Regions from separate parts of the Homo sapiens genome. Here all the other regions are linked to region 3. Evidence: promoter capture Hi-C in 16 types of primary human blood cells and fetal thymus (Javierre and others, 2016). All regions are on one chromosome and are shown on one strand. The core of a region is centred on a gene start or on the middle of the fragment in contact, and the rest is flanking DNA. Distances in the headings are between cores, read along the strand shown. Region 1 overlaps PDHB (pyruvate dehydrogenase E1 subunit beta). Region 2 overlaps PXK (PX domain containing serine/threonine kinase like). Region 3 holds the start of ACOX2 (acyl-CoA oxidase 2).

The links. Contacts are between HindIII fragments. The CHiCAGO score rates a contact against its expected background, and 5 or more counts as called.
Region 1: a fragment that was not itself captured here is called in contact with the fragment with the promoter of ACOX2 in region 3 in 6 of 17 cell types (M2 macrophages, M0 macrophages, monocytes and 3 more); the score reaches 9.8 in M2 macrophages.
Region 2: a contact is called between a fragment that was not itself captured here and the fragment with the promoter of ACOX2 in region 3, in 3 of 17 cell types (M0 macrophages, M2 macrophages and monocytes). The highest score is 7.0, in M0 macrophages.

Annotation. Positions count from the first base shown.
Region 1 is chr3:58,427,200-58,429,899 of GRCh38, forward strand. It overlaps PDHB (pyruvate dehydrogenase E1 subunit beta), which reads right to left. Exons shown (of 10, transcript NM_000925.4): 8 at 2,509-2,600; 9 at 1,274-1,415; 10 at 431-980. The coding sequence ends at 835. Among named protein-coding and RNA genes, the nearest start is that of PDHB, 5.3 kb to the right of the region's middle. RefSeq lists an enhancer at 2,327-2,406. The HindIII fragment of the contact is 7,139 bases long and covers 1-2,700 here.
Region 2 is chr3:58,411,071-58,413,770 of GRCh38, forward strand. It overlaps PXK (PX domain containing serine/threonine kinase like), which reads left to right. Exons shown (of 18, transcript NM_017771.5): 17 at 1,831-1,893. Among named protein-coding and RNA genes, the nearest start is that of PDHB, 21 kb to the right of the region's middle. The HindIII fragment of the contact is 1,447 bases long and covers 707-2,153 here.
Region 3 is chr3:58,535,799-58,538,498 of GRCh38, forward strand. ACOX2 (acyl-CoA oxidase 2) reads right to left here and starts at 1,392. Exons shown (of 15, transcript NM_003500.4): 1 at 1,321-1,392. It overlaps LOC107984079 (a long non-coding RNA gene), which reads left to right. Exons shown (of 3, transcript XR_001740724.2): 1 at 1-516. The HindIII fragment of the contact is 2,666 bases long and covers 1-2,359 here.

The DNA of each region.
Region 1 (2,700 bases), core at 81-2,580, 110 kb before region 3:
GGGTTTCACCATGTTAGCCAGGATGGTCTTGATCTCCTGACATCATGTTCTGCCCGCCTTGGCCTCCCAAAGTACTGGGATTACAGGCATGAGCCACCACGCCCAGCCCAGCCAATTCTTTCAATATAAAAATACAATAGTCATGGCCAGGTGTGGTGGCTCATGCCTGTAATCCCAGCAGTTTGGGAGGGCCAAGGCAGGTGGATCACCTGAGGTCAGGTGTTCAAGACCAGCCTGGCCAACATGGTGAAACCCCACCTCTACTAAAAACACCAAAATTAGCCGGATGTGGTGGCTAATTTCCTACTGAGGCTGAGGCAGGAGAATCACTTGAACCTGGGAGGTGGAGGCTGCAGTGAGCCAAGATTGTGCCATCACACTCCAGCTTGGGGAACAGAGCCAAACATTGTCTCAAAAAAAAAAAAATTAGTCATGTTAGAAATTCCTTTATTCCTTATCAAAACAAACTAACAGTAAATGTATATTATATGCTTTAATTTTATACATATAAGTTATCTTGTTTGGATACATCTTTCATGAGGACTCTGCCACATCCATACTTTGTCCTTGTGGTGAGAGAGGATAAAATGTTATATAATTTGTTATTCAAAGAACATGGCAACCGTAACAGACAAAAGGAAGCATGGCATCTAGGGGAGGAGAGTGGAGAGTTTTCCATACACAAACACATTTAAACTTCCCTGTACAAAAATACCTGCTGTTGCTTTAGAAATCGTTTTCCGTTATGAATAGTCAGGTCTTGCAGTACAAATCCAGGTGCAGTGCCAGCAAGTATTTCAAATAAATTTCAACGACTTGATATTCAAGTCCAAACTAAATATTTAATGTTTTCTTTATTGCAAATATGATGTCTTTGACCTGAGGTATAGAGTTGTCCTCTAGAATCTTTGCATAAGGCATAGGGACATCAGCACCAGTGACACGAACAGCAGGAGCATCCAGGAAATTGAACGCAGGACCTAGGAGAAGGAAGGCTCAACTGAGAGAGTGCAAATGCCAGCTGGGCACTACCACCTTGGCACAGAGGTGTGGCTGACCAGGAAGAGAAAATGTAAGGAATGCTAATTATGGGGAACCGCTTTCTGGATTTGCTTTTAAAAATATCTGCCTGAAGAGAAATGCCAAACTTACAAGTTTAAAGTTGAAGTCGTTTGGCCACTCCTAGCTTTCAATCTCTTTATCCTGTACGTATTCAGGTACATGATGTTTACTATAGCTTGACTGTATTCTAGAACCAGTTTCTTTGAAATACCTTCCATGATCCTGGCACAGATTTCAGCTCCTACTCCAAACTGTGGCCAGCCTCCTTCCACAGTTACAAGATGATTTGTCTTCATGACACTGGCTTCTATGGTTTCCATGTCCATTGGTCTAATGGTACGCATATTTATCACCTAAACAGGTAATATAATCAAGTTTACAGAGCTATTGCAGCACAAATAGAGCCTTATCCCCATAATACCATTTCCTTTTTTGTTTCCTGTTAATCTTTGTATCTAGGAAAATCTAATCTGCCTATGAATACCTATTCATGAATGTACAAACTGTAAAAGGAAAAATTTTAATTAAAACAAAGATCTGTATGTCTACCACAAGCAGCTCTGTGCAGTTATAGGATTCATTTATCTTCCTTCACTTTTTTATTTCTTTTGGGATGGAGTTTTGCTCTTGTTGTCCAGGCTGGAGTGCAGTGGCGTGATCTCGGCTCACTGCCACCCCCGCCTTCCCAGTTCAAGCCATTTTCCTGCCTCAGCCTCTGGAGTAGCTGGGATTACAGGCATAGACCACCACGCCTAGCTAATTTTTGTATTTTTAGTAGAGATGGGGTTTCAACATGTTGGCCAGACTGGTCTTGAACTCCTGACCTCAGGTGATCCACCACGCCCAGCCAATCCTCCTTCACTTTAAATTCCCTCATCAAAATGAGTTAACAGTTAACAGCTGAGTGCCCATCATGTACCAAGCACTACACTAAGTGTAATTCTCACAACAGCCCTATGACGGGACAGTATTTATATTATCCCTGTTTTATAGCTGATGAAACAGATTTAGAGTATATAACTTGCCCAAGTATAACTAGCACATGGTGAGTTTCTAAAAGATCCAGAACCTCAGAAGGGTGAGGTGGGAGCATCACTTGGGCCCAGGAGTTCACGGTTACAGTGAGCCATGATCCAGCCACTGCACTTCAGCCTGGGCAACAGAACAAAAGCCTGTTTTTTTCTCTCTCGGGGGGTATCACTGAGAACCAGAAGAGGTTCAGAGAGCTCCCACTGTCTCTCAAAAAAAAAGATCCAGAACCTAAGTGACCTGAGTGGTAAAAAGCTAAGTATGTGAACTGCAGGCAGGTTCCCAGCTTTAAGCAGAGACAGAAATGAGTGACAAAGCAAGGTTTTACATCTAATTAACCTGTTACAGAACTCTTCTGGGTCTTAAATCTAAAAGGAGCCCTTCTAATTCTTTAAGAACAAGTAAATGTCCACTCACCTCACATTCAACTCCTTCTTTAGATAGCACTGCTGCAGCTTCTAAGCAGTGGCCCACAGGTCTTGAATGGGAAACCACAGTTATATGTGTTCCTGAAAACAGAGTGGTCACAGATCAGAGATCAGGTTGAAACTGAAGATGCTACACCACTGTGCCGCCAGCTGTGGCTCTTGTTCATTCATAAAGTCTTCA
Region 2 (2,700 bases), core at 180-2,679, 120 kb before region 3:
TGGGCAGGTGAAGAGGCAGAGATGTTTAGAAGGGAGGAAATTGGGGATATTCACAGGTCATGCCTCAGTCTTCTCAGTGAAGTCAGGGAGGAGAATGTCTGCCTGGGGCGGGAGGAGAAAAGTGTACAAGATGATTAGGCTGCAGCCCAGAGGGCTGCATGAGCCACAGCTGGAGAATGCAAGTGGCATGACCAGAGCTGGAGATTGGCAGCCCTGAATAGAGAAAGCCCATAAACTCCAGAAGGAGAGTGAGAGTCACATTGACACCACTGCAGAGTCCAGACTGGAGAAGGGCTCAGGAAGAGCTGCAAAGGAGAGGAAGGAGGGGTGGTCCCAATGAGGACCAGCGCAGGCTCCTTGGGGGTGAATGCTGTTGTGGCTGGTGGGTAGTTTCAGTTGGAAGCCTATCTTCGCCATGGTTGATGGGAGGGACATGGACCGGTCATGGTCATTATTATACTGAGACTCATGATTCCAACCAGCAGTCATTCTGTCCAGTAGCTAATTTTTTATAGAGCAGAGAAAGCCTGACAGTGTGCTCTCTACCTTCTAAGACCCTGCCTGCCTGCAAAGCTGTGTCACATGAAGCCAGGTAGGACTCAAGGACTTCAGGATACCCCAGTGCCCTCAGGAGTTTAGGAAAATGAAGTAGCAGTTGATGGATATATACAGATAATTCCCAAACTTTACTGGAGTCAAGCAGTGAAGCTTCTCCCCATTAAAGTTCATTAGCACTACGAACAGTATAAAGACAGCATGCATTGAGTTTTACCTCCTTTTTCAGTAAAACACCCTCATATTTTATAGGGAACTGAGGGAATATTGCAAGTAGAAAAGCATTAAACTGGAGGGAGGTGTGGTTTAATCAGGACATTTCTCATCATGGCCAGTGTCCATGAGACACCAACATGTCCTGTGGGTAGTGAGGGAAGTGATGGCTGGGGCCTTAACCACACCAGCTCTGGTGGCTTCTCAGGCGTGTGATGGCAGCCCTCTGGGTGTGTGTGCCCATCAGCCCAGAAAGCACCTGACTAGGGAGATTTGGTTAACCTCTCCATAGGATCTCTATGTGTGGGAGGGGGGTTTCTGTGTCCACAGAAAGGCTTACGTAGGAACCTCTGCTCATTGGGCTACTTCATGTCAGCTCAGGAAGATATTTTCTAGGGATCGCCAAGTAATGGGGAGATGCTGAGAACTTGGGAATATTTGAAATATAATAAGGTTACTAGATCCAGAAAAAGCATGCAACAGGTGGGATTCACATTGTTTTAATGTGAATAAGGACATTTACTTATTCTAGATAAGAAAAGGGCTGTGAAATCCATAAACTGAATAGACTGACCCTATCTAGTTGATTCTACCTGCTGATAAAATGGAACTTCGGCAGAATGCGTTACTGGGTGGATGCTGTACGGGGCACTCCCTTCCTTTGGAAGCCCCCAGCAGGCTGCTCTGCACCTCTCTGTCTGCTGTACCACTTGTGGCTTCTGTCATTTGTCATTACCCAGGAGTGGAGGTTGCGTCAGGAAGAGATACTGCAGCCAATTGCCTAAGCTGTTGATGGTGCAAAGTTTCAAACCAGGCAGGCCATGGGGAGCAGTGGGAGGCAAGGAGCTTTTAGTGGCTTGGGGAAGGAGGTGGACCCTGCACCAGAGTAAAAGCCTGTCACTGGGTCCGGTCTCTGAGTTTTTTGTCCCTCATCATCTTGTTTCACAAGGCTCACACACTAAGCCAAATGTAGATTCTCAGACAGCAGTGGGTCCCAGCCTGGGCCAAATTCCAAATGTCTTTCGTTGGTCCCCATGAGGGTTTCTCTGTGTTTTATCTTAGCAGGATCTGGGGCCAGCTCACCTCTCACGTCCCCGTCATCGCCAACTCCACCCTCTACATCAGGTTAGTGATGGAGTAAAGTGACATGCCACCTTCCTGTCCGCCAACAGGAGGAGCGGGCTGTGCCTCTTCCTGCCTTGGCCCAACAATTTCAGGGGTTAGATAGCAGCAGCTTTCTCAAGAGAAATCAGTGGGAGTGCAAATTAGCAGTGTCATTTGGGAGAGCTGAGGGGCTAGATTTCCAAGCTCGGCTTTCACAGGGAATGGACCGGTTTCAGGGCCACTAGCCACCCCCGGGCTCCAGCTTGCTGTCTTTGCTGAAAAGCTTCATGCAGAGCTTCTCAGATTGGAGCCTGTCTTGGTACATGCTTAGCTGAACAACACAAATGCGCCGTGGCCCAGGGGTCCCGTCCTGCCAGGCCTCTCTCCTCAGGGAGCCCGTCCATAGGGTCAGTTTTGTCACAGAGCACAACTGGTAAGATGCCTAGGTGGAGGAGTGAAAGAGTCACTGCGTTTCTGATTTTCTGGCAACGATTTGACTCTGTTTTGCTCTGTAATGTATTTAATTATCTGAATATTTTTCTGTTATTAGCCTTTGCTTCACTTTTGTAAATTAGATACTAGTTTTGATTGAAAAATGTAAAAAGAATTTATCTTGGAGACTGCTTATAAAAATAATCCCCAATTTTGTTGAGTAGCCCCATAATACTATCTTTTATTTTTGAACCAAGATGTCTCTCCTAAAGTCTTTTGCAAGCCCAATAAAAACAATTGGGACACCAGTATCTCCTTTTGCTTCTTAAATGAACCAGTTGTTCCAGATGTGCGAGGAGCTGCTTCTGCCACTCAGAGCTTGCTGGCTGTGCCTGG
Region 3 (2,700 bases), core at 142-2,641:
TCTCCTTCATGGCAAGTGCTTGGCCTCTGAGAAGCCCCTATTCCTCCACAGTGAGGCAACCATGAGGTGCAGTCCATCCTATTTCACAAGTCTCTTGAGTCCATCTGCTCCTTGCTATCTCTTTGGCTAGCATCCAGGCCACTGTTATCTCTTACTTGGCCTCAGTGTTCCTCTTATTTGTTCTCCCAGCTGCCAGGTGAACTCTTGAACTGCAAATCACATTGTTTTCCTCTCCTGCTTGGAATCTGCTCCTTGGGGCCCACTGTTTGTGGAATGGAGTCCTTGCTGTGTCTACCCAACCCTACTCCACTCACCTCTCTCCTATGTCAACTTACTGCCCTCATCCCTGGCCTCCACTCATTCTCTTCCTACCCTTTGCCCCTGCTGTTCTCTCTGAACAAAGTTCAGCTCCCTCGTTCCCTGGGTGCTCTAGGGTTAGGGACAAGTTCTTATTTGCTTACATGTTCCTCCCACAAGGCCTGGGAGGCCAGCTCTGCATTTCCTAGCTTGCAGCAGGTATGTTGTAAATCTCTCCGGCAGGCTGCCATGCTTTTGATCCCCTTCCTTCCTGACCTCAACCTGACAGATGCACTGCTGTTATTACCATTTTATGGAGAGGATGTGGGCCTTGGAAAGGGAGGAGACTTTATAAGGGTCATGCAACCACATGTAGCAAATGATTCATATGAGGCTTTCAAACCAATACCCCCAGCAGGGCTGTGGGGGTGCTGGCAAGGGGCCCCATCCTCTGCCCCCCGGAGTCCTGCAAGTGCCCCTAGTGCGGCTCCTCTCGTCCTGCCTTACCTCTTTTCCTTGCTCTGCTGCCACTGCCTCCTTGCTGTTCTGAATGCTCCAGGCCTCCCTGCCACTGCCAGCATTTGCTAGGGCATCTCCATCTGCCCAGAACACCCTTTCTTCAAATGTCACTAGGGCTTTTTGCATTGAACCTCATTTAACCTTAAAGAGGCCACCCTCTTTAAAACCCCAAGCCCCCTCCCCCGGCATTCCCTGTCCTCCTCACTCTGCTCTCCTTTTTCTCTTTTCACTTATCCCCTTCTGACATTTGAGATCATTTACTCATTTCATATGTTTTTGTTTACTTCCATCTCCCTGCTACTAACACAGAAACTGCAAGAGGGCCGGGATCTTTGTCACTGTCATGCCGTGACCCTAACACTTAGTGCAGGGCCTGATTTGCAGGAGGTGCCCAGTGAAGAAAGCCTTGCTCAGGGTCTCTCGGAGCTGCGGACAGGGTCATCATGGGGGCAGCCCTCTCCTCTGGGGTCTCCCAGTCCCTCCCTGCCCAAAAACCTGGCTCACCTGGCTCCCCTCTGTCCTGTGTCCGCACTGTAGGCCGGGCTGGCCTCTCCCCGGCTGTAGGCCGCAGCCTCTGGCAGGCTTGTGGTCCTGCCCTTCTCTCCTCCCACATAGGGGCTGGAACACAGAAGCTGAGAGAAACTGCTTGGCCAGCTCTCAAGCCCTTGTCTGCTCTCAAGCCCTTGTCTGCTCTCAAGCCCTTGTCTGCTCTCAAGCCCTTGTCTGGGCTTATGGAGCTCCTCTCCTTCCTCCCTCTCTTCCTGCATGGGTGTGACCTTTGTGCCTGTCGCTGGGGCTGCCCTGGGAGGACTTCTGGGAGGTTGGAGCCCTTACATCTCAAAGCCAGGGATTCCTTTGACACTACTTGTACCAAAAAGCTGTGTACCCCAGCAGTGTTTCCAAAGTGATATCCTGGTCTTCCCTGATCTTTCACTGTGTGCCCTTCAGGCACTCAAGCTGTTAATATCACACGAGCTTAATAGGCTCCCCTGAGATGGTCCTCATGTGAAAGGATTGCTCTGTAAGGTGTACGTTTTTCCTCTCTCCCCATGTTTCTGCTCTAAAATATGGCTTGTCTTATGCTTAGCATCCCCTGACATTCCCTGGAAAAATATTTGTGAAGCATCCATCTGTAGTGTGTGGGATCCAGATGAGAGCTGGGTCTTAGTGAGAGGAATGAGAGGCTTAGAGGTTCCCTCCCTGCATAACCACCTTGGAAAGTCAGATGCGGCTCCCCATTTTGCAGGTAAGGAAACAGGCTCAGGGAGGGATGTCACTTTGTTTGGGTTTGCACAATAAGTAGATTACGTAACACATTTGTGTAAGACTGGGAAAGAAATCAAGGGGCCAGTAGGAGATCAAGGCTCCTGTTCTGGCAGGACTTCTGAGCTATGTTGACTCTGAGCAGGTGTACTCCTTTCTGGGCCTTGGCCTCCCCTGTAATGCAAGGTATTTGCTCAGTAAGGAGCCTCACAGCACCCCATCATATCCCCAAGGTAGTGTCTAGCTTGTGTCTGTAGGAAGAGGCAGGACCTGTGGCCCAAGCTTTGCAACTTATCACCTAGTAGGTCCTTCTGGAGCTGTGGGGCTCAGACTCCTGGCAGTCCTCATTGCTGTGGGCAGTGGTTTCAGGGAAGGTGGTCTTGGCCCCACTGTTTGGAGGTGAAAGTTCTTACTTACACCTGGACTCATCTCCGCCAAGGATTTATGCTATCACTGACCATGGGCAATGACTTAGTTCCTCTCTGCCATAGAGAAAGGCTTGGATTGCAGGAAGTGCCCAGTGAAGAAAGCCTTGCTCAGGGGCCCTTGGAGCAAGGCTTTTTAATAAACTCTCCATGTTTAAATTGTTTTCTCATCCGCTTTGAAGCTGACCCTGTTCTG